6 separate regions of the Homo sapiens genome follow, and regions 1, 2, 3, 5 and 6 are each linked to region 4. Evidence: promoter capture Hi-C in human tissues and cell types (Jung and others, 2019). All regions are on one chromosome and are shown on one strand. Each heading gives the region's core, a stretch centred on a gene start or on the middle of the fragment in contact. The rest is flanking DNA. Distances are from core to core; before and after follow the strand shown. Region 1 has its middle 10 kb from the start of PTPRS-AS1. Region 2 overlaps CHAF1A (chromatin assembly factor 1 subunit A). Region 3 overlaps PTPRS (protein tyrosine phosphatase receptor type S). Region 4 holds the start of ARRDC5 (arrestin domain containing 5). Region 5 overlaps PTPRS (protein tyrosine phosphatase receptor type S). Region 6 has its middle 8.1 kb from the start of PTPRS.

The links. The method cuts DNA at HindIII sites, captures the fragments that hold promoters and counts their contacts. A contact is called where the count stands out against the background at its distance.
Region 1: a contact is called between a fragment that was not itself captured here and the fragment with the promoter of ARRDC5 in region 4, in 3 of the 25 tissues and cell types used here (aorta, spleen and thymus).
Region 2: a fragment that was not itself captured here is called in contact with the fragment with the promoter of ARRDC5 in region 4 in 1 of the 25 tissues and cell types used here (dorsolateral prefrontal cortex).
Region 3: a contact is called between a fragment that was not itself captured here and the fragment with the promoter of ARRDC5 in region 4, in 2 of the 25 tissues and cell types used here (dorsolateral prefrontal cortex and lymphoblastoid cells).
Region 5: a contact is called between a fragment that was not itself captured here and the fragment with the promoter of ARRDC5 in region 4, in 1 of the 25 tissues and cell types used here (dorsolateral prefrontal cortex).
Region 6: a fragment that was not itself captured here is called in contact with the fragment with the promoter of ARRDC5 in region 4 in 1 of the 25 tissues and cell types used here (dorsolateral prefrontal cortex).

The regions. Positions count from the first base shown.
Region 1 is chr19:5,165,721-5,169,407 of GRCh38, reverse strand. No RefSeq gene overlaps it. Among named protein-coding and RNA genes, the nearest start is that of PTPRS-AS1, 10 kb to the left of the region's middle. RefSeq lists a silencer at 3,629-3,687. The HindIII fragment of the contact is 5,500 bases long and covers 1-3,687 here.
Region 2 is chr19:4,413,866-4,417,888 of GRCh38, reverse strand. The region is part of intron 3 of CHAF1A (chromatin assembly factor 1 subunit A); the gene reads right to left. Among named protein-coding and RNA genes, the nearest start is that of CHAF1A, 13 kb to the right of the region's middle. The HindIII fragment of the contact is 3,051 bases long and covers 163-3,213 here.
Region 3 is chr19:5,236,317-5,239,968 of GRCh38, reverse strand. PTPRS (protein tyrosine phosphatase receptor type S) reads left to right here. Exons shown (of 38, transcript NM_002850.4): 13 at 906-1,050. Among named protein-coding and RNA genes, the nearest start is that of PTPRS-AS1, 60 kb to the right of the region's middle. The HindIII fragment of the contact is 6,554 bases long and covers 1-3,652 here.
Region 4 is chr19:4,901,614-4,905,767 of GRCh38, reverse strand. It overlaps ARRDC5 (arrestin domain containing 5), which reads left to right and starts at 2,872. Exons shown (of 3, transcript NM_001080523.3): 1 at 2,872-3,195. The coding sequence starts at 2,943. It also overlaps a transcript of UHRF1 not described here. The HindIII fragment of the contact is 23,961 bases long and covers 1-4,154 here.
Region 5 is chr19:5,252,184-5,256,255 of GRCh38, reverse strand. It overlaps PTPRS (protein tyrosine phosphatase receptor type S), which reads left to right. Exons shown (of 38, transcript NM_002850.4): 9 at 137-148. Among named protein-coding and RNA genes, the nearest start is that of PTPRS-AS1, 76 kb to the right of the region's middle. The HindIII fragment of the contact is 3,689 bases long and covers 1-3,140 here.
Region 6 is chr19:5,347,112-5,350,762 of GRCh38, reverse strand. No RefSeq gene overlaps it. Among named protein-coding and RNA genes, the nearest start is that of PTPRS, 8.1 kb to the right of the region's middle. The HindIII fragment of the contact is 4,016 bases long and covers 1-3,651 here.

The DNA.
Region 1 (3,687 bases), core at 642-3,141, 260 kb before region 4:
TCACTAATTTTATTGTTCAAATTGTTTCAGCTTCAGCCACTGGGAGCTGCTTCGGTTGGGTCTGGTGTCCTTTCTATATATCTATACCCTTTTTTGAGCATTTCCTTATTTTCTGGGAACACAAGATGCTTCAGGTTTATCTTGTGTTTTCTGTTTTTCTTTCTCTCTCTCTCTCTCTCTTTTTTTTTTTTTTTTTTGTTGTTGAGATGGAGTCTTGCTGTATTGCTCAGGCTAGAGTGTAGTGGCATGATCTCGGCTCACCTCCTGGGTTCATGTGATTCTCCTGCCTCAGCCTCCCGAGTAGCTTGGATTACAGGTGCCCACCACCACGCCCAGCTAATTTTTGTATTTTTAGTAGAGATGGGTTTTTGCGATGTTGGCCAGGCTGGTTTCGAACTCCTGACCTCAGGTGATCTGCCCACCTCAGCCTCCCACAGTGCTGGCATTACAGGCATGAGTCACCGAGCCCAGACCCCCATCGAATCATTCATGTAGGCTGGGTATGGCCAACTTTGGGAGGCCAAGGCGGGAGGATCGCTTGAGCCCAGGACTTTAAGACCAGCCTGGGCGACAAAGTGAGACCCCTATCTCTACAAAAAAAATAAAAAATTAGCTGGGCACAGCGGTATGTGCCTGTACCTTGTCTTGTGTTTTCTCTGTCCCAGTCATAAAATCAGTGATTCCTCCCCTGGTTCCTTTTATTGGAGAATGGTATTTAGATCGGGGTGCTAGTATGCTCACTGCTATTGGGGTATCAGATTAGCCATGTGTACACACATCTTTATTTATTTCTTCTTAACATTTTTCTTTTTGTAGGGATGGGGCTGTGCTATGTTGTCCAGGCTGGTCTTGAACTCCTAGCCTCAAGCGATTCTCCCCAAGCCACCCTGGTCTCCCAAATAGCTGGGATTACAAGTTTGAGCCCTTTCACCTGTATTCATAATATAAATATATATACTTACATATTTATTTCTGCATCTATATGTACTGACTATATATTTCTATAACATCTGTCTATATATATATATTAGAAAATCATGGATTGATACTGACACTTTTTTTTTTTTTTTTTGAGACGGAGTCTCGCTATGTCACCCAGGCTGGAGTGCAGTGGCGCAATCTCGGCTCACTGCAAGCTCTGCCTCCTGGGTTCATGCCATTTTCCTGCCTCAGCCTCCCGAGTAGCTGGGACTACAGGCGCCCACAACCACGCCCAGCTAATTTTTTTTTTGTTTTTAGTAGAGACAGGGTTTCACTGTGTTAGCCAGGATGGTCTCGATCTCCTGACGTCATGATCCACCCACCTTGGCCTCCCAAAGTGCTGGGATTACAGGCATGAGCCACTGCGCCCAGCCTATACTGACACTTCTGATTCCAACCAGCACAATGTTCATTCTAGCCGCTTCCTTTACCCTTGACGTAACTTTTTTCGCTGACAGAGAGAAACCTAGCTCATCTACAATTAATTCACTCATTTGCTCAATTGCAATATTCACATATAGTAGGTACAGATGGCTAAGCCATGAGAACTAGATTTTTGAACTAGAGTATAGTGTTGGTGTATAGGTATTTTCATTTTTAGCCTAACAGTATCCAGTGGAAACATTGTTTCCCAAATTTACTGAGATCAACTCCATTCTTCCCCTGGCTCTTCAGTGTGGTTGATTTTCATTTGTGGTGCAGCTGAGTTTATATTTTACTATTTGTTTTCCATTTGGAGTACACATCATATCCTTGATTTTAATCAGTTATCTTTTAAAGTGTGTATAACATGACTATGATTTTTCAGTCAGAGCTATACCAAATGGTTCTCAGAGAGTGGGCACTCCCTCTTCATTCCTGCTACTCTTTTTCCCATACCACTTCCAGCCTCTTTTTTTTTTTTCTTTTCCTTTTTTGCAACAGAGTCTCCCTCTGTTACCCAGGCTGGAGTGCAGTGGCGCGATCTCGGCTCACTGCAAGCTCCGCCTCCCGGGTTCACGCCATTCTCCTGCCTCAGCCTCCCGAGTAGCTGGGACTACAGGCGCCCGCCACCACGCCTGGCTAATTTTTTGTATTTTTAGTAGAGACGGGGTTTCACTGTGTTAGCCAGGATGGTCTCGATCTCTTGACCTCGTGATCCACCTGCCTTGGCCCCCAAAGTGCTGGGATTACAGGCATAAGCTTCCGCACCTAGCCTTTTTTTTTTTTTTTTTTTTTTTTAAGAGATGGGATCTGGCTCTGTCACACAGGCTGGAGTGCAGTAGCACAATCACGAGTCATTGCATCCCTGACCTCCTAGGCTCAAATGATCCCCCTACCTCAGCTTCCTGAGTAGCTGGGACTACAGGTGTGCACCACCACGTCTGGCTAATTAAAAACAATTTTTTTTTCAGAGATAGGGTCCTGCTATGTTGCCTAGACTGGTCTCGAAATCCTGGCCTCAAGCAATCCTCCCACCTTGGCCTCCTAAAGTGCTGAGATTACAGGCATGAGCCACCTTGCCTACTGCCCTAATTCTTTTAAATAATTTCCCACCTGCCCCTGTAGGTAACCAACATCCTTAGTTTCTTGTCTATCCTTCCCGTATTTCTTTTTCATTGAGGTGAGATTCACATAAAGTTAGCCATTTGAAAGTGAACAATTCAGTGACATTTGACACACTCAGTGCTGTGCAGTCACCAATTCTCTTTAATTCCCAAATACCCCCAAAGAAGACCCTATGCCCATTAAATAGCCACTCCTCATTCCCCTGGCCCCAGCTGCTGGCAACCTACAATCCCCTTCCTGTCTCTGTAGATTGACCTGTCCTGGACATTTCATAGATATGGGATCACACACTGTGTGGCCTTTTGTGTCTGGCTTCTTTCACTGAGCATGATGCCAAGGTTCATCCACACTACTGTAGCCTGTGTCAGACCCCCATTCCTTTTAATGGCTGAGTGATATTCCATTGTATGGATGGATCACATTGTGTTTACCCATCCATCAAACAACAGACACTTGGATTGTTTCCACCTTTTGGCCACTGTGAATCATGTTGCTATGACCATGGTGTGCAAACATCTGAGTCTCTGCTTCCAATTCTTTTGGTGTATCCTGGAAGTCAGATTCCTGGGTCATACAGTGACTCTGTGTTTAACTTTTTATTTGAAATGGAGTTTCACTCTTGTCGCCCAGGCTGGAGTGCAATGGTGCGGTCTCAGCTCACTGCAACCCTCCTGGGTTCAATTGATTCTCCTGCCTCAGCCTCCCGAGTAGCTGGGATAACAGGAGCTCACCACCACCCCCAGCTAATTTTTGTATTTTTAGTAGAGATGGAGTTTTACCATGTTGGCCAGGCTGGTCATGAACTCCTGACCTCAGGTGATCCACCCGCCTCGGACTCCTAAAGTGCTGGGATTATAGGCATGAGCCACCAAGCCTGGTCTGTGTTTAACTTTTTGAAGGACTCAGACTATTCCCAGGTACTTTCTTAACACCTGGTAATGTTGATGCTGGCATCTGTCTCCTCTAAAGGGCATGGGCTTTGTGGGGCAAGAACTTGCTGTATCCTCAGTGTCTGGCTCCCCAGTGTGTGTGTGGGCTTGGGAAAAACTAGCACAGTGCAAGGGCTCAGTAGCAGCTGGCAGAATTGATAAGACTGAGAGGTGAGGCCAACTGGACTTCCTGGGTCGAGCGGGGACTTGGAGAACTTTTCTGTCTTAC
Region 2 (4,023 bases), core at 439-2,938, 490 kb after region 4:
AAGTGTGCATACATGTGTGTATCTGGGATTAGATAACAAGAGAGACTACGGAGGCAGATAAAGAAATGAGTGAAGGACACCAAGCACAAGAAAAACAAGGCAAGCTCAGAAATAAAGGCAACAGACAAGGCTGGGCGCGGTGGCTAACGCCTGTAATTCCAGCACTTTGGGAGGCCGAGGCAGACAGATCACCTGAGGTCAGGAGTTCGAGACCAGCCTGGCCAACGTGGCAAAACCCCATCTCTACTAAAAATACAAAAATTAGCCGAGCGTGGTGGCAGGTGCCTGTAATCCCACCTACTCAGGAGGCTGAGGCAGAAGAATCGCTTGAACCCAGGAGAAGGAGGTTGCAGTGAGCCGAGATTGCGCCACCATACTCCTGCCTGGGCAACAGGGTGAGACTCTGTCTTAAAAAAAAAAAAAAAAAAAAAGCGACAGCTGGCCTGGGCGACAGGGAGAGGATGGATTTGTAGCAAAGGAGAGAGGACCTGCCTGTCCAAAGGAGATGGAGTTCTTACAGGAATATAGATCCCTATTTGCTGGTCCTTCCAATTTCTCCAAGAGAAGCTGATATTAGGAATTTCATATGAATTTTTTTAGGTGTTTAAAAATGGACACAGACGGGCACAGTGGCTCATGCCTGTAATCCCAGCACTTTGGGAGGTCAAGGCGGGAGGATCACTTGAGCCCAGGAGTTCAAGACCAGCCTGGGCAATAAAGCAAGACCCTGTCTCTAAAAAAAGCTTTTAGTTAGTCGGGTGTTGTGGTGCACATCTGTAGTCCTAGCTACCCAGGAGTCTGGGGTGGGAGGAGCCCGGGAGGTTGAGGCTGCACTGAGCTGTCCAACCTGGGTGACAGAGTGAGACTGTCTAAAAAAAAAATAAAAAGATACTAAATTAATCAAATAAAACATGTCTCCAGGCTGGTTTCCTGTGCACCACTAATTTACATTCTGTCTAGCTCAACTCTGCTTTTTATTTTAATGTTATTTTTGAGATGGAGTCTTACTCCTGTCACAGAGGCTGGAGTGCAGCGAGTGCCACGATCTCGGCTCACTGCAACCTCTACCTCCCAAGTTCAAGCGATTCTCCTGCCTCAGCTTCTTGAGTAGCTGGGATTATAGGCGTGTGCCACCACACCTGGCTAATTTTTGTATTTTTAGTGGAGATAGGGGTTTCATCATGTTGGCCAGGCTGGTCTCGAACTCCTGACCTCAGGTGATCCACCCGCCTCGCCTCCCAAAGTGCTAGGAATTCAGGCGTGAGCCACCGCGCCCAGCCAACTCTGCTTTTTAGAATGTGGAGTGAAAGCTTAAGACAAAAGGGAAACTTGCTGGGGTTTTCTAGGACTTCTACCTTCTAGGGCACAATATTTTCTATCACCTACCTTCAAACTGAGCATGAGCTACTAGGAATTACCAATAGGATCCATGGTGTGACTCACCATCCACCTAAATGGTCCCAGGAAGGAAGACGAACAGGGAGTCTGGACTTTGGCCTAAGCTATCTCCCACCGGGGCAGGGAATCCTGAAAACCAAACTAGTAGAAGTGAAGAGCAATGGGAAGAGACGCTTAAGAGTGGGAAGAAATAGTTCTCCGGGTTCATTGCAGACTTGCAGTGTAAGACTGAAGTTGACTGAAAAACCAAAGGCCCATTTTCCTGGCAATGGTCTGAGGGGTCAACAAAATTATGTAAGTGATTTCTTTTTTTTTTTGAGACGGAGTCTCGCTCTGTCGCCCAGGCTGGAGTGCAGTGGCGCCATCTCGGATCACTGCAAGCTCCGCCTCCCGGGTTCAAGCGATTCTCCTGCCTCAGTCTGCCCAGTAGCTGGGACTATAGGTGCCCACCACCATGCCTGGGTAATTTTTTTGTATTTTTAGTAGAGATGGGGTTTCACCATGTTAGCCAGGATGGTCTCGATCTCCTGACCTCGTGATCCGCCCGCCTCGGCCTCCCAAAGTGCTGGGATTAAAGGCGTGAGCCACCGCGCCCGGCCAACAGTGATTTCTTTATCTGGGAAAGCTGAACCCCTGACTAGGACCTCTCACAGAATAAAAGCTTCAGATGAATGAGCTCAAGACAGCCTTTCCACCTGGGTCCCACTGAGTCCTTTCTGGACTAAACCTTTCTTTAGGGAAAGGCCGAGCCGTTGTGAGAAGGCTGCCCGTGTTGGCAGGAGCTCTTTCACCACCGAGATCAGGCCAGGGTGTTCAGTCTTTGCTGAGAATGTGGCAACAGAAATGCCAGCCCGAGGCAGCCTCACCAAATGCTGCAGAAAAAGCATCTGTCTCTCCAGCATCTACTCTGCCTGCCAAGGCTGTGTGCCTCTCCCCCACGCTGAGGGATTTAACTGCAGAATATGGGAGCCGCAGCTCTCCGGGGCTGCCCTTTGTGTTCAGAGATTATAATACGGAATGTGGTCTTGGGGTGGCGGGGAATTCAGTTCCTTAGTCTTGCCCATGCCTGAAGCTCAGCTGCAGAATCTCCTGCCTCTTACAATGCCCCCCCTCTGCTGTGAGTCCAGAGATAACAGACTTGATGTGACTGGCAAGAGCCCGCTCAGTAATATCCAACAACCAAAACAGAGCAATTACTGCTTAATTTAAAACTGGTATCTTTTTTGCTTTGCCAAACCCTCAGATGGACCTTGAAGTCTGACAGAACTTTATCTTCTTGAAATTTGACCCAAGTGTTTATAGATCTCACTCTCAAAATTCTATGCAACACTCCCACATTCTACCCAGCTGGAGCCCGGTCAGACAGCACCCTCAACTGCCAAAAACGTGATCCAGGATCCCAGAAGGAAGCCAAAACACAAAAACCGACAATCCCAAGGAGTCGCGACAGAGCTCACTATGTGTGGGCATGAAAATTCCTGCACCCTTTCTCAGATAATCCTCTCAGAGCCTATGGACTCTGATTTTATACTAAAGGGTATCTAATTTCTAAGCCCAGACCAGATAAGCCGCTAAAACCTGACAGCAGGGGAGCGGAGGCAGGGGGGAAAAGAGAAAACCTCCAATTGGCCCAAGCATGAGAGAGTGCAAGCTGGGAAAATAAGAACGCACGCATTGCCTTGAGCTACCAAGACCTCATTCTCCTTAACAGCCCAAGGCCACTTGTAGAAGGAAGCTCAAGGGAACAATCATTTTGTGAAAGCCAAGCACAGAAACAGCAGAACTGAGAAAACAGCTCTGTAACCTACAGCATGTCCACACCATGGGATATCACGCAGCTGTTAAAAAGAGCTCCATCTTTCCATCCCAATATAAAAAACATCTAAGACACCCTTGAGTAACAAAGACAGATATTTACAGTATATGTCATACACAAGGAAACAAAATGATACTGGGTGTTTCCTAGAGATCTCTCTGGATATACAGGACACAGAAAAACACAAGGTGATGATGATGATAATAATGGCAACCTCCTGGGAGAACAGAGGGCTTCAAGGTTTCCATTCTTTTTCCTTTTTGTTTTTTTTTTTTTTTGAGACGGTCTGGCTGTTGCCCAGGCTGGAGCACAGTGGTGCAATCATGACTCACCGCAACCTCTGCCTCCTTGGCTCAAGTGATCCTTCCACCTCAGCCTCCCAAGGAGCTGGGACTACAGGTGTGCACCCCCATGCCCCGCTATTTTTTGTATTTTTTGTACAGACGGAGTTTCACCATGTTGGTCAAGCTGGTTTCGAACTCCTAAGCTCAAGCAATCCTCCCACCTCGGCTTCCCAAAGTGCTGGGGTTACAGGCTTGAGCCACTGCACCTAGACCAGTATTTCTTTTAAACATGGAGAATTTATTACAAATGTAATTTCAAGTATATGGAAAGAAGTTCCAGCAATCTGGGCACAGAAGCAAGCCAAAGATTCCAGTAACACAACTGCACCAACATGATCATTTGTCAAATAATCATCTCGATCACTAACAGAAGAGGCTAAATCACAAGTCTGATTGCAAACTTCAGAAATGGTTCTTTCCCACATGGTAGAAAACTCTAATACTAAAAAGGAACACTTCAGCTAT
Region 3 (3,652 bases), core at 493-2,992, 340 kb before region 4:
GGTTCCGTATGTATCGGCGTCCCCATCTCTCTTGATCTGTGCTTCTCTCTGTGTCTTGTCTTCACCGGTGCCTCTGACGCTCACTCTCCATCCCTCCGGGTCTGTTTCTGTCTGTTTATGTCTCTGTCTCTGTTTCTCTTTCTGTCTCTGTTTTCTGTGTGTTTTTTTTCTGTCTCCATCTGTCTCTGTGTTTCTATCCCTCTGCCTCTCTTTCTGTCTCTCTGTCTCTGTCTCTGTATCTGTTTCTTTCTCCTCTCTCTCTATTTCTGTCTCTATCTCTATTTCTGTCTCTCTCTCCTCTCTTTCTCTGTCCCTGTCTCAATCTCTCTCTCCTCCGTTTCTGTCTGTCTCTCTCCCCTGTTTCTCTGTGTTTCTGTCTCTGTCTCTATTTCTCTGTCTCTGTGTGTCTATCTCTGTATCTGTCTCCTTCTCAATTTCTCTATTCCTCTGTCTCTGTATCTCTCTCCTGTTTCTGTCTGTCTCTGTATCTCTCTCTGTCTCTGTCTCTCCCATTTATCTCTGTCTCTGTGTCTGTCTCTCTCCTTTGTTTCTCTGTCTCTATCTCTGTCACTGTGTCCCTCTGTCTCTATCTCTGTCTCTGTGTCCCTCTGTCTCTGACTCTCTCCCCTGTTTCTCTCTGTCTCTGTCTCTCTCCGTCTCTGTCTCTCTCCGTACCCTCTTTTTCTGTCTGTATCTCTGTCTCTACCTCTCTCTCCCCTCTACCTCTCTCCCTCATCCCTCTCTGTCCCTCTCTGCCGCACCCCTGTCTCTATTTCTCTGTCTCTCTCTCTCTCTCTCTCTCTCCCCCTCCCCCCTCTGTTTCTGTCTCTCTCTCTCTCCCCTTTGTTTCTGTCTCTCTCTCTCTCTCCCCCATCCCTCTCTGTCCTTCTCTGCCCTGCCCCCAGGTGGGAAGGACCTTCGACCCGACGACTTCCTACGTGGTGGAGGACCTGAAGCCCAACACGGAGTACGCCTTCCGCCTGGCGGCCCGCTCGCCGCAGGGCCTGGGCGCCTTCACCCCCGTGGTGCGGCAGCGCACGCTGCAGTCCAGTAGGTGTCTCGCGGGGCCGCCCTTCTCTGCGGGAGGGACCACGGCCTGACCGCAGACAGCCCCTCGGCAGACGGACCCAGGCGGGGCCTGCTGCAGTGGGTGGGGGGCGCCTCCCGGCCTGTCTCCGCTTTGTTCCCCGACCTCGGATCCATCTACCCGCGCTGTGCCTCAGTATCCCCATCAGCACAGCGAGGGTCTCAGCATGGGGTTGTCTGTGCCCCTGGGCCTGGTGACCCGGGTTGAGACTTGGGGTCAAGGAGAAGTGGCTGATCTTGGCCCTGGTGTAGGAGAGGTTCTGGGACCACGCCTTCTTTCTCCTCTTTCCATCCTGGAGTGGGGGCTGATTGAAGGGCCACGTTGTGCCCATTTCCCAGGCATTTTGAGGGTACCGTGAGGCTGTGGTCACGGCTCGCACCCCATCATTCTCAGAGCAAAGGACACAGAGACGAACCCACCTTCCCCGTCGGTCTTCCTCCCCCGGGCAGGGAGCCTTGGCTCTCAAGACCCCAGGACGAGGTCCCAGTTCCCGAGGGTGGGGAGGGGGTGGAATCGGAGCCGAGGCCAGGTTTCGTGGGGGCATGCAGGTCCCCACTCGGGGCTCAAATCTCTGGAGTTCTCTGCTGTGCCGGCCCGGCCTCCCTGTTTGGAGCGAGTCACCCTTCACCTGGCAGTTGGCTGTGGGTCACCGCCACCCTCTCTCCCTGACTTCTCTAAACTCGGAGCTGGACAGGCCCCTTCTGCCGTCTCCCCACCTCACCTGCCTCCCTGGCTCCGCTCAGCCCAGCGTGGCCTTCCCTGGTGTGGCCTCCACCGGCGTGGTCTCTCTGTCGTGGCCTCCCCCTGCTTCCCCCTCTTCCCTCCCTTCACCCAGTCAGTCACGGCGTAGCCACCCCAGGCTTTCTTCCAGAATCAGTCATGATGGTCAAACCTTCAAGGCCCGCCCTGGGTGTGTGTACACAGGGGCATCTCGGATCAGTCGAAGGGTTAACATCAACTCCAGCCGGGGCATCTGAGCCGCTGGGATCGGGGGGGTGGGGCGCCTCGGAGACACAACCCCCCTGCCCCCGCCGGCCCCCTTCCCTCCTTCCTGCTCCCCACAAACCAAGCCGAGCTGAGCACCTGGCGGCTCCAAGGCGTCTGGGCGCGTCTGTGTGAGGTGGAGTCAGTGAGGGTGGCCTGTGGCTTGGGCAGCCACCTGAGAGACTGGCTGAGGTGTCCTGAAGGTGAGTACACGCTGGTCTCAAGCAGGTTCACAAAAACGGCCCACCCCGCGTGCCCCCCCGCCTGCCCCAGCCACTCTGGGCTGAACGGACAGTCCACGGCCCGAATTCGGCCCCAGAAACTCTCCCAAACCACGTGCCACCACCATGCCACGCTGCCCACGCACGCACATCCACGTCTTTGCACACATCCCTTCCCGAGATGTCATGCAGGTTGGGCCGGATTGTGAAGGACGTGACCTACACGGTCACCTAGAAAGCGGCTTCGGCCCAGCCACGCGAACCTCCGGGGCGGCCCAGGACAGGGAGTTGGGGAGAAGGGACTCCCCGCTTCTTGCCCCGAGACGGGTGGGGCCCAGGAGAACCGACAGCAAAGACTCAGGGCCAGGCGTATCCATCCCCCCGGGGACTGCGGGCTCCTTAGGCTGAACACAGGGTAGGTGCAGGTCAGACCACTCAGCCGTGGGTCTCCCCAGACACCGTGCCACCTTCCTGCCTCCAGCCTGGAACCTCAGCGTGCGCACGCTGGGGGCTGGAGCAGGGCTGCGGGGCCACTGGCATCCTGAGACCCACCAAGAGTTCGGTCTGGCCTTGTAGCTCAGCGCTCGGCCGTTCCCTCTCTCGTAAGAAAGTCTTTTAAGTTAGCAGTTGAAGAGTGGAAGGTAGGTAACCAGACTGGGCGTTTTCTGGAAGGAGTCTTTCTTTCTTTTATTAAGTTTTTCTCATCATCATCACCATCACTGTTGTTTCTTATTTTATTATGGTTTCGGTTTTATTTTTTCTCCCCCTTTCTCAGCAAATCCATTCCTTCCGACACATTCCTTGATTGTTGTTTTTTTTTTTTTTTTCCCCCTGCTCCCTGCCTGATTCCCCGCACCCCCCGGGCACCTTTGGTTGGTGTGGCTGGTCAAGAAATGGGGAAGGGTTCCCTTTGTCTAGTTTTGGAGGAGGGGCCTCTAATGTTTTGCTTTAAGTGAGGCCGGAGGGTCTCTCTAGTTGAAGTAAGCTGTTGGGGTGGCCTCTGCAGTCTCTGGTAGCCCAGTGTCTCTGAGGACAGGATTCGTCTCTGGGTTTCAGATGCTAGCAGGATAGTGTCCATAGTAAGTACTCAGTAAACATGTGCTCAGCCACCAAGCAAGCTGCTCTGATGGTGAGGGTTTCTAATGCTCTTGCCACGAGCAAGGCCAGTAATCTCTCTGGGCCTCCCTCCAGGGGACGTAGATTCTAAAATCGTGGGCACTTGGGAGAGTGGCTTCCGCCATACCCAACCAGCACAAGGCTGAGATCTGAGCTGCCAACCTCAAACCAAGCCAGCCTGTGAATCACGGCCAAGTCTGGGTTCCAATCCTGGCTCTGCCACCTCATCACTGCATGCCCCTGG
Region 4 (4,154 bases), core at 1,623-4,122:
AGGCAGGCGGATCACTGAGGTCAGGAGATCAAGACTAGCCTGGCTAACACGGTGAAACCCCGTCTCTACTAAAAATACAAAAATTAGCCAGATGTGGTGGCACGTGCCTATAATCCCAGCTACTCGGGAGGCAGAGGCAGAAGAATTGCTTGAACCCAGGAGGCGGAGGTTACAGTGAGCCGAGATTGCACCACTGAACTCCAGCCTGGGCAACAAGAGCAAAACTCCATCTCAAAAATAAATAAATAAATAAATAAATAATAAAATACACTAACACTAACAATACCTGATGAGCTAAAAAAAAAATTGCAAAAAAATCTCATAATGTTTTAAGAAACTACAAATTTGTGGCCGGGTGTGGTGGCTCACACCTGTAATCCCAGCACTTTGGGAGGCTGAGGCAGGTGGATCACGAGGTCAGGAGATGGAGACCATCCTGGCTAACATGGTGAAACCCCATCTCTACTAAAAATACAAAAAAAAATTAGCCGGGCATGGTGGCACATGCCTGTAGTCCCAGCTACTCGGGAGGCTGAGGCAGGAGAATGGCGTGAACCTGGGAGGCAGAGCTTGCAGTGAGCCGAGATCACACCACTGCACTCCAGCCTGGGCGACTGAGCAAGACTCTGTCTCAAAAAAAAAAAAAAAAAAAAAAAAAAGAAAGTTTACGAATTTGTGTTGAGCCATATTCCATCCTGGGCCAAATGTGGCCCGTGGGTCAGGGGTTGGATGAGCTTGACTTAGGGAAATAAGAGGCCAATGCCCACAAAAGCTATCACATAAAATAATGCAAGATACAGCCAAGACAAGAAATAAGGCCTGCCAGGCTAGAGAATGGGTACTTCCTAGCCCCTCCTATGATTCAATGTCCCTCCCTCTCAGGCACCAGACCATGTGCAAATCAGGTGCCAGGAATAATTGTTAGAGTGCAAAGGGCTTCAGTTTCCCTTTTGCAAAATGATACATTCTCAGAGGTCATTAAGTCATTCAACAAACTTTTATTGATTCCACCCCCCACACCCACTCCTGGCTGAGCCAGATCCTGCCTGGGTCACGCAGACATTGATGGGCACAAAGTTCACTTAGACAAGGTCTCACCCTGGAGGGACTTCCCATCCAATGGGGGAGATGCAGGCATAAAGAGAAATGTCAGCCAGGCGTGGTAGCTCATGCCTGTAATCCCAGCACTTTGGGAGGCCAAGTGAGGCGGGTGGATCATGAGGTCAGGAGTTCAAGATCAGCCTGGCCAAGATGGTGAAACCCTGTCTCTACTAAAAATAACAAAAATTGGCTGGGTGCGGTGGCTCACGCCTGTAATCCCAGCACTTTGGGAGGCCAAGGTGGGCGGATCACGAGGTCAGGAGATTGAGACCATCCTGGCTAACATGATGAAACCCCGTCTCTACTAAAAATACAAAAAATTAGCCAGGCATTTGTGGCGGACGCCTGTAGTCCCAGCTACTCGGGAAGCTGAGGCAGGAGAATGGCATGAACACGGGAGGCGGAGCTTGCAGTGAGCCGAGATCGCACCACTGCACTCCAGCCTGGGTGACAAAGTGAGACTCCAATCTCAAAAAAAAAACAAAAACAAAAACAAAAAGAACAAAAATTAGCCGGGCACGGGGGCAGGTGCCTGTAACCCCCATGCCCGTAATCCCAGCTACTTGGGAGGCTGAGGCAGGAGAATCGCTTGAACCCAGGGGGCAGAGGTTGCAGTGAGCCGAGATCACGCCACTGCACTCCAGCCTGGGCAACAGAGTGAGATTCCACCTCAAAAAAAAAGAGAAATGTCAATCATGCAGGGAGTTGCTGCTTCCTGATGGTGTCGATGTTCAGATTAAGCACACACTGCCCTGATCAACTTCAGTGCGCACCAGATTTCAGGTCCTGGCCATATCTCTATGTTTTTTCCAATATAGACCAATATAAATGTAGAGTCTTTAAGATGAAAATGAGTGTGTATGCACCTGGGCACAGTGGCTCACAACTGTAATCCCAGCACTTTGGGAGGCCAAGGCAGGCGAATCATGTGAGGCCACAAGTTCGAGACCAGCCTGGCCAACATGGTGAAACCCCGTCTCTACTAAAAATACAAAAATTAGCTAGTTGCAGTGGCACTTGCCTGTAATCTCAGGTACTTGGGGGGCTGAGGTGGGAGAATCGCTGGAACCCAGGAGGCAGAGGTTGCAGTGAGCCGAGATCACACCATTGCACTCCAGTCTGGCTGACAGAGTGAGACCATCACAAAAAATAAAAATAAAATAAATAAAAATACCAAAAAAAAATTAGCAAAGCATGGTGATGGTGCATGCCTGTAATTCCAGCTACTCAGGAGGCTGAAGCAGGAGAATTGCTTGAACCCGGGAGGCAGATGTGGCAGTGAGCCGAGATCGCGCCACTACACTCCAGCCTGGGTGACAGAATGAGACTTTGTCTCAAAAAAAGAAAAAGCCCAGGTGCAGTGGCTCACGCCTGCAATCCCAGCACTTTGGGAGGCTGAGGTGGGTGGATCACGAGGTCAGGAGATCGAGACCATCCTGGCCAACACAGTGAAACTCTGTCTCTACCAAAAAATTAGCTGGGCATGCTGGCATGCACCCGTGGTCCCAGCTACTCAGGAGGCTGAGGCAGGAGAATTGCTTGAACCCATGAGGCGGAGGTTGCAGTGAGCCAAGATGGCACCCCTGCACTCCAGCCTGGGCTACAGGGTAAGACTCCATCTCAAAAAAAAAAAAAAAGAACCAGTGAGGACTACAGGTTTCCCAATCAACCACCCACCCTAAACAACAGTTTTGCCTCCCCTCCTGGCCACTGGGGTCCCCACTTCCCGGAACTCTGAGCTGAGTGATGTCATAGATGGATTACCTCACTAGGGCCAACGAACCGGGAATTTCAGGGACATGGGGGACAGAGAGGAATGTCTCTCTACCCCCCAACCCCCCATGTCTGTGGTGAAGTCGATCGAATTAGTGCTGCCCGAGGATAGAATCTACCTGGCTGGCTCCAGCATAAAAGGGCAGGTGATCTTAACCCTGAACAGCACCCTGGTGGACCCCATAGTGAAGGTGGAGCTCGTGGGAAGGGGTTACGTCGAATGGAGTGAAGAAGCCGGGGCATCCTGTGATTATAGCAGAAATGTTATTTGCAACAACAAGGCAGACTACGTGCATAAGACAAAGACATTCCCAGTGGAGGGTAAGGACGAGGCCAACAGCCACCCCTAGCCATGACAGGAACCTGGGTCTGGAAAATAAACACATCCGAGAGTCAATCAACAAAACTCTAGGGCTATCAGAAATAGGGAGTGGCCTGATTTCTCCCTAGGAGGGAGGCCATGAAGAACAATGACCATCAGATACACAAAACGCAAAAATAACAAGACATAAGGAGCTGATCGGAACCCCGATATTCAAAATGAAGGTTCAAAGTAGTCTCCTTGGAAAATGCTCAATCCAACAACTGCCTTTGAGAGGCCTCTGAGAAGTCTTATTCTTTTACAGATAAGTTTCACTCTGACAGCAAAACCCCAGGAGACAAAGTAGGCAGTCCTGCATTCATGGGGAGAGACAGTGGAGGTGGGCCAGGCACAGTGGTTCATACCTGTAATTCCAGCACTTTGAGAGGCCGAGGCAGGTGGATCACTTGAGGTCAGGAGTTTGAGACCAGCCTGGCCAATATAGCGAAACCCCATCTCTACCAAAAAATACCAAAAAATTAGCTGGGCGTGCTGGCACGTGCCTGTAATCTCAGCTACTTGGGAGGCTGAAGCAAGAGAATCACTTGAACTCGTGAAGGGGAGGTTCCAGTAAGCTGAGATCGCACCACAGCACGCCAGCCTGGGTGACGGAGCGAGATTCCCTCTCAAAAAAAGAAAGATAGTGGAGGTAGAAGAGCAAGGGAGACCTTCCAGAGAAGGAATAACTAGTCCCCAGTTCCACCAGGTCAGATCTGAAATCTGAACAAATGTCAGAGAGTCTGCTGAGTTGTCGGGGAAATTATATGTCCATTGCAAAATGTGTTTGTGGGGATATTCCCAGGTATTAAGCAGTCAAGCAGAACACGTGGCCAACACTTGGCTGAACAAAGTGTAATTTAATTTAATTTATTTCTGTATTTATTTATTTGTATCTTATTTATTTATTTATCTATTTTTT
Region 5 (4,072 bases), core at 47-2,546, 350 kb before region 4:
TAAAGAAAAAAAAAACAACAAACTATTGCAGCTTTTAGCCTTGGGAAGTCCTCTTTTTACTCTCTGTATCTCCCCTATTTTTTCTCTTCTTCCCATGTCATTGTGTTCTGCATCAAACCCCCTTTACATCCCTCAGAGCTTCGAGAAGGTTGGTGTGTTTTTTTCTTTTTTACTTTCTTTACCCACATTTTTACATTCTGAAAATGACACGCACACACACAAAACACATGTAGACACCACACGGACACACGCTGACACACACACGGAAAAAAAATAGAAAAATGAACAACAATTTTAAAAGATGGAATATGAATCATAAGCACAAAGCAAACTAAACAAAAAACCGCCAAGCGAGCGCAAAACCCAGAAAGACACGAAAATCTCAGCCGCGCCCAGCCCGGCCTAGGGCCGGCCGCACACATGCGATGCTTGCATTATGGTCGCCTCTGCATCCGTTGGTAATGTTGTTGCTAAGTTTTTTGCACTCCTCGTCGTCATGGTAACTTGGGCCTGATGCATGCTGGGAGAATGTAAAAATTTCTCTGCATGCCTCTCTTGTCGGTTTGGTTTGGTGAATTCCCAACGCCTTCTGTTGGAGTGTTTCTCGTCTTCTGTTCTGTTTTTCTCTTTTGGTTTTCTTTTTTCCTTTTTCTTTTTTTTTTCTTTTTTCTTTTTTTCTTTGGTTTTGTTTCGTTTTGGGGGGAAAAAATCAAATGGTTCTTTTTTCCCCTCCCATTCCCTTCACCTGGTCCTCTTCTCCCCCAAAGCGACTCGTCTTTGGTTCTGTCTTGTGTCTGTGCTATTTGGTTTTGGTTTCTTGGGTTGAGCTGTTCTGTGGTTGTTCTCCAAACGCATTGTGATTTAAAAGCCAGTGTTCCTGTCCCAGCTATCATCCAGGAGGGCAGAAGGGGTCCCACAGCTGGGATGCCAGGGCAGAAAGTGACCACTTAGGCACAAGGGCACAAGGGAGGTGGCACAGACAGATGGCAGGAGGTCAGAACATGGGTGGGGTGTGTGGAGAGAGCAGCCCAATTTTCCTGACCTCACTGGCCAGCTCCTCTTTCCCCAGAGGTAGTAACTCAGCTCCCTGCCTCCAGGCAGCCATGTTGGAAGGAAGCTTAAGCAGGCATGTTCCCATCCTTCTACCTCAGAATGAGACTGCCTCCTGCGCTCCCAAATAAGCCCAAACCCAGGCATTTGAAGTACTGCTGAATGTGCACTAGCATTTTGAGTTCTTATTCATTTTAGTGACATATCCAAACATGGATTATGGTCAGTTTTAAATGAGGGGAGAGGACAATAACAGCACCATTTTCACAGGACCATGCATACTCGGTGTGTAATTGGCACTCAAAATGGCAGCTGCTGTGATGACTGTATGCATTCTGGCTGGGTACCAATCCAGAAGTGCCCATTAGGAAATGTAGCCTGACAGACTTTGGAAGAAAGACTTGGCCAATTATCTGACCTGGAACACTATGCCTCTGCCTCCCAGGCAGCACTGGCTGCTTCCCCCATCCCCTCTCAGACTCTGAGCCCGGTCACAGGCGTCTTTTGTCCAGCAACACAGCATGGTCACTTTCTGAGTACCTGAGCATCAGAGCTGTGGAATTCTGGAAAAAGCCCAGGGGAACCTTGGACACAGCCTCTCCCCTGCTCTCTCTGCCTCCCCAACTCTCCCTCTGCTTCTCTTTCTCTTTTTCAACTCTCTTTCTCTCTGTGTGTCTCTCACTCTTGCAAATCTTCAGAGATGCACACCCCCATCTTCTGCTCCCCTCCCCAAGAAAAGGCACGCCCTTGAGAGTCTTACTCCAACCCCCAATAAAAAACACCCCCCAATAAAATATCCGTGTAGATTTTTAACCACCAACCCCAGCTGACTACCCCGTTTAGACGATGTTGAGGACAGAAGCCAGACTTTGGAATCACCTTTTCCCCCTCTTGTCCCTCACTCACCTTCTCCAAACTTACCAATTATTAAATCCTGGACCAAGTTGGCAAGAGGACTTTAGATGCAGTAAGATTTGCTTATTAACCCAGCATGCGAGCTGCCAGGCTGACCCTCAGAGCAGTGCCAAAAGATGGCAGAAAGGGGTCTCCCAGCCCCTCCACCAAAGCTAGGTGCTGGTGCATTGGAACTGAGTGAACAGAGGGTCTCTGAAGACCACTTGGACTTTCTGGGCAGTACAGCCCAGAAAGTGATGAGAGCATAGGCTCTGGACTCTGGCAGACCTGGATTCCAGTTTTGTCTGTGCCCCTCCCTGGCTACGTGACCTTGAACTAGTCATTTGACCACTTGGAGTCCCCACTTCCTCATCTGAACAGTAGAGATCATAAATGAACCTTGATCACAGGGTAGGTGAAAGGATTTCATTGAACTAAGTGCTCTGTGTAACAAGCATTCCCAGTAGGATTGTTGTAAATAAAGGATTCAAGCAAATGATCTGGGCAAGTCACTTCCCTTCTTTGTGGGTCTTAGTTTCCCTGTTATGTACTTCACATGTCCACTGTTTGAATAAGATGGCATATGGGAAACTTTTAAAAATAATTGTAGGGCAGAAGCTAATTCATTTGCTCAGACCTCATTTTTCGCTAGTGCTTTCCTGAGCTCATCTCATGATCTCATTTTCTCCTGGCTCCAGCCCCATCCCCATGAGATCAGCGGACTACCCAGAGCCATAGCTCTCATTTTCCCCACTGTCATTTCCTAGGAAGTTCTGTGGCCACAGAAAGGGACAACAAAGGCCCATATTAAGTACAAGGCTACCCTTGCAGATAAGTACCAGCCCACCAGAAGAGATGGGCTACCTGGCATGTTCTGAAAGCTACAAGTATTTACATTGTTGCCAGAGCAGCCAGTCACAGGAATTAATTGCAAAAAGGGGAAAAAATGCAACCCCTAATCTCACTCTTATTTATTTTCTAAACTGACAGATCTCCAGCTTTGGCTGACTCTGGGTGGTACAGGGGGTAAAATATTCAGGCTTGCCCTTCTCCTCCTGAAATTTATCTCTGGGATCCAAAGGGCTTAAGTCAAAATGTGTCCATTTTTAAAAATACAGCTGGCAGCTCCACTCCCAGCTGTAGTTGAATTCTCCCTCCTCCGACTTTTGACAAGGTGGGAAGATGATCAGATTATATTCTCCCTGACTATGAATGTTCTTTTCTGGTTCTTTAAAACTCTAAGCCTTTAGAGTATGAGTTAGTGGCTAAAGGTAGTGTCTTTACTGCCTGGTCTTGCAACATAGCATTATTGAAACGTAGTGCACAGGACCCATGTAAATGGTTTGCCACCCTCTGATGCCAGGGGAACTTGGAAAAAGCTGGAGACATCAGGAGGAATTTTCTTTTTCTTTTACTTTTTTTTTTTTTTTTTTTTTTTGAGATGGAGTTTCACTCTTGTCACTCAGGCTGGAGTGCATTGACGTGATCTCGGCTCACTGCAACCTCCTCCTCCTGGGTTCAATGATTCTCCTGTCTCAGCCTCCCAAGTAGCTGGGATTACAGTTGCCCTCCACCACGCCTGGCTAATTTTTGTATTTTTATTAGAGACAGGGTTTTGCCATGTTGGCCAGGCTGGTCTCCTGACCTCAGGTAATCTACCTGCCTCGGCCTCCAAAAGTGCTGGGATTACAGGTGTGAGCCACCACACTCGGCCTTTTTTTTTTTTTTTTTTTTTTTGACAGAATCTCACTGTGTTGCCCAGGCTGAAGTACAGTGGCGCAATCTCGGCTCACTGCAACCTCCGCCTCCTGGGTTCAAGTGATTCTCCTGCCTCAGTCCCCTGAGTAGCTGGGATTACAGGCACCTGGCACCACGCTCAGATAATTTTTGTATTTCTGGTAGAGACAGGGTTTCACCATGTTGGCCAGGCTGGTCTCAAACTCCTGACCTCAGGTGATTCACCCACCTCAGCCTCCCAAAGTGCTGGGATTGCAGGAGTGAGCCACCGTGCCCTGCCGGTTGAGCAATGTTCTACCTTGAAGGGTCTGAGGATATCTTCAAGGTTTTGGAAGAGGCCGATGGGACTGGCATAATTTAACGCAGAGTCTTGAGTGCTAAGCTAAGAAAC
Region 6 (3,651 bases), core at 457-2,956, 450 kb before region 4:
GCTGGGATTATAGGTATGAGCCACCACACCTGGCCTAAATGTCTCTTTTTCTTCTTCTTTTCTCTCTCTCTCTCTCTTTTTTTTTTTTTTAAGATGGAGTCTCCTCTGTCGAAGTGTCGAAGGCTGGAGTGCAGTGGCATGATCTCAGCTCACTGCAACCTCCACCTCCCAGGTTCATGTGATTCTCCTGCCTCAGCCTCCCAATTAGCTGGGATTACAGGCATGTGCCACCACACCCGGCTAATTTTTGTATTTTTAGTAGAGATGGGATTTCACCATGTTAGCCAGGCTGGTCTTGAACTCCTGAGTTCAGGCAATCCACCCACCTTGGCCTCCCAAATTGCTGGGATTACAGGCGTGAGCCACCGCGCCCAGTTTAAAGAAACTTCAGGTCATGTGTCCAGCGCTGGATGCAAGTATCAGTGGAATTAAAACACGAGCGCAAGTAACAATGTAACAAGTCAAATGAATAAGGAAGACAAAAAAGTTACAAAGAAAAACAATAAAGACCCAACCATGATATTAACAAATCCTAGGGACATTAACAAGCTCAAGGGGAATCATCTGTTCTTAGACGTGAGTAATTTTGGCAGGCGACCATACCATAGTGTTTCATGCTCAGTGCGTAGAACTTAAAATCACTTTGTGAGGCCAGTGTGGTGGCTCACATCCATAATCCCAGGGCTCCAGGAGGCTGAGGAGGGAGGACCACTTGAGACCAGGAGTTCAAGACCAGCCTGGGCAACACAATGAGACCCCATGTTTACAAAAAAAAAAAATTTTTTTTTAAATTATCTGGGCATAGTGGCACATGTCTATAGTCCCAGCGACTCAGGAGGCTGAGGTGTCAGGATCGCTTGAGCCCAGGAGTTCCAGACCAATCTGGGCAACATGGTGAAACCCCCATTGCTACAAAAAAATACAAAAATGCATTTTGGGAGCCCGAAGTGAGCGGATCATTAGGTCAAGAGATTGACACCGTTCTGGCCAACAGGGTGAAACCTCGTCTCTACTAAAAATACAAAAATTAGCTGGGCGTGGTGGCATGCACCTGTAGTCCCAGCTACTTGGGAGGCCAAGGCAGGAGAATCACTTGAACTCGGGAGGCAGAGGTTGCAGTGAGCCGAGATCGTGCCACTGCACTCCAGCCTGTTGACAGAACGAGACTCCATCTCAAAAAAAAAAAAAAAAAAAAAAGCAGAAATGAGACGGGTGGGCTGGTGCACACCTGTAATCCCAGCTACTTGGAGACTGAGGTGGGAGGATTGTTTGAGTATAGGAGTTTGAGGCTGCAGTGAGCTATGATCATGCAACTACACTCCAGCCTGAGTGACAGAGTGAGACTGTCTTAAAAAACAATAATAAATAAGTTGTAGCCTCTCAAAGTTTCAAGTACCACACTCAGGGCCCACACTGATGGCACTGGAAGGCCCTTGGCTTGGTGAGGCTTGTGGCAGGGGTCCAGATGACACTGCCAGGCATGTCCCTCTGACTCTACACACAATACCCAGCACAGACCCCACCTGGTGGAGAATCCAAGCCTTTCTCCTTGAGAAGGGATGAACCAAGAGGCCCTGTCTGCACCGCCAGCTGGCAGGAGACAACGGAGGCCTGATCTGAATTTGTCATTGCGTCCCCCAGGGAGAGTGGGAGAATAAAGCCCTTGATCTTTACATGTGCCAGCCAGGCCCTAGAGCTGGGAGGCTGGCTGCATGGCATCCCCTTGCCTCTCCCAAAACCTGGATCTTATTGCAATCAACAAAGGGTGCTCATGATTTATGGGCTAGGGTCTAGCATCTCTTGTCATATGTCATGGGGATGTCAAGCTCCTTGTCCAGGAGTAGGTAAAGTCCTTGAGGGGTATCAGTGAAGCCACTGTCAGGGAAAGGGTCTTTTATGGGGTTGAACTGCGTTCCCCCAAAAGAGATGTTGAAGTCCTAACCCCTAGGACCTCAGAATGTGACCTTATTTGGAAATAGGGTCTTCACAGAAGTAAAGTTAAAATGAGGGCATTAGGGTGGGTCCCGATCCACCCTATGATCCACCTTATGATGGGTGTCCTTATAAAAAGGGGAAATCTGGACACAGAGACAGACCCACATATAGGGGAAATGATGTGAAGAAGAGATACAAGGAGAAGGCGGCCCATCTGCAAGCCAAGGAGTGAGGTCTCAGAAGTAACCAATCCTGGGCAGGCGTGGTGGCTCATGCCTATAATCCCAGCACTTTGAGAGGCCCAGGTGGGTGGATCACCTGAGGTCAGAAGTTCAAGACCAGCCTGGCCAACATGGCAAAAACAATTTTTTTTTGGAGATGGAGTTTCACTGTTGCTGCCCAGGCTGGAGTGCAATAACATGATCTCCGCTCACTGCGACCTCCGCCTCCCAGGATCAAGCGATTCTCCTGCCTCAGCCTCCTGAGTAGCTGGGATTACAGGTGCCTGCCACTACCCACACCTGGCTAATTTTTTGTATTTTTTTTTAGTAGAGATGGGGTTTCTCCATGTTGGCCAAGCTGGTTTCAAACTCCTTACCTCAGGTGATCCACCCGCCTCGGTCTCCCAAAGGGCTGGGATTACAGGCATGAGCCACCACACCCAGCCAGGATGTGTTACTTCCGAGGTCTCGCTCCTTGGCTTGCAGACGGCCGCCTTCTCCCTGTGTCTCTTCTTCACATCATCTCCCCTCTATATGGGTCTGTCTCTGTGTCCAAATTTCCCCTTTGTATAAGGGACATCATCATCACCAATCATCCACATTTTAGAACATTTTTAAACATTTTTATTTTATTTTAGAACATTTTTAACATTTTAATTTTAGAATATTTTAATCACCTGGAAAGGAACCTCAAAAGAATCCATTGCCTAATTCAAGATCATTAAGATTTATTCCTCTGCATTTTTTCCTAAGAGTTTTATAGTTTAAGCTCTTCCATTTAGGTCTATCATCCATGTTGAGTTGATTTTTGTATATGGTGTGAGGTGGGGATTCAACTTCATTCTTTAGCATGTGAATATGGAATTGTCCTGGCCCCACTTGTTGAAAAGACTATTCTTTCCCCACTGAATTGACAACTTGATGGAAATCAATTGACCATAGATATGAGGGTTTTTTCTGCACTTTCAATTCTACCCCATTGATCTGAATGTCTATTCTTATGCCAGTACATCATTGTCCTGGTTACAGTAGGTTGTAATAAGTTTTGAAATTGGGAAGTCTGAGTCCTCCAACTTTGTTCTTTTTCAAGATTGTTTTGGCTGTTCTAAGTTCCTCGAACATTTTCACATGAATTTTAGGATCAGCTTGCCAATTTCTGCAAAGAAGCTAACTGAAATTTTGATAGGGATTGGGTTTAATCTTTAGATCAATTTGGGGAGTATAGACATCTTAACAATATTATTCTTCCAATCCATGAGCATGGGATGTCTTTCCATTTAGTTAAGTCTTCTTTAATTTAATCTTTCAACCTTTTGTTATTTTTTATAGTATAAGCTTTGCACTTCTTTTGGAAATATATTCCTAAGTATTTTATTCTTTTTCATCAATTGTAAATGGAATTGGTTTCTTAATTTCATTTCGTTTGTTCATTGCCACTGCATAGGAAATACAATGGATTTTTGTGTATTGATTTCATATCTTGCCGCCTTGATGA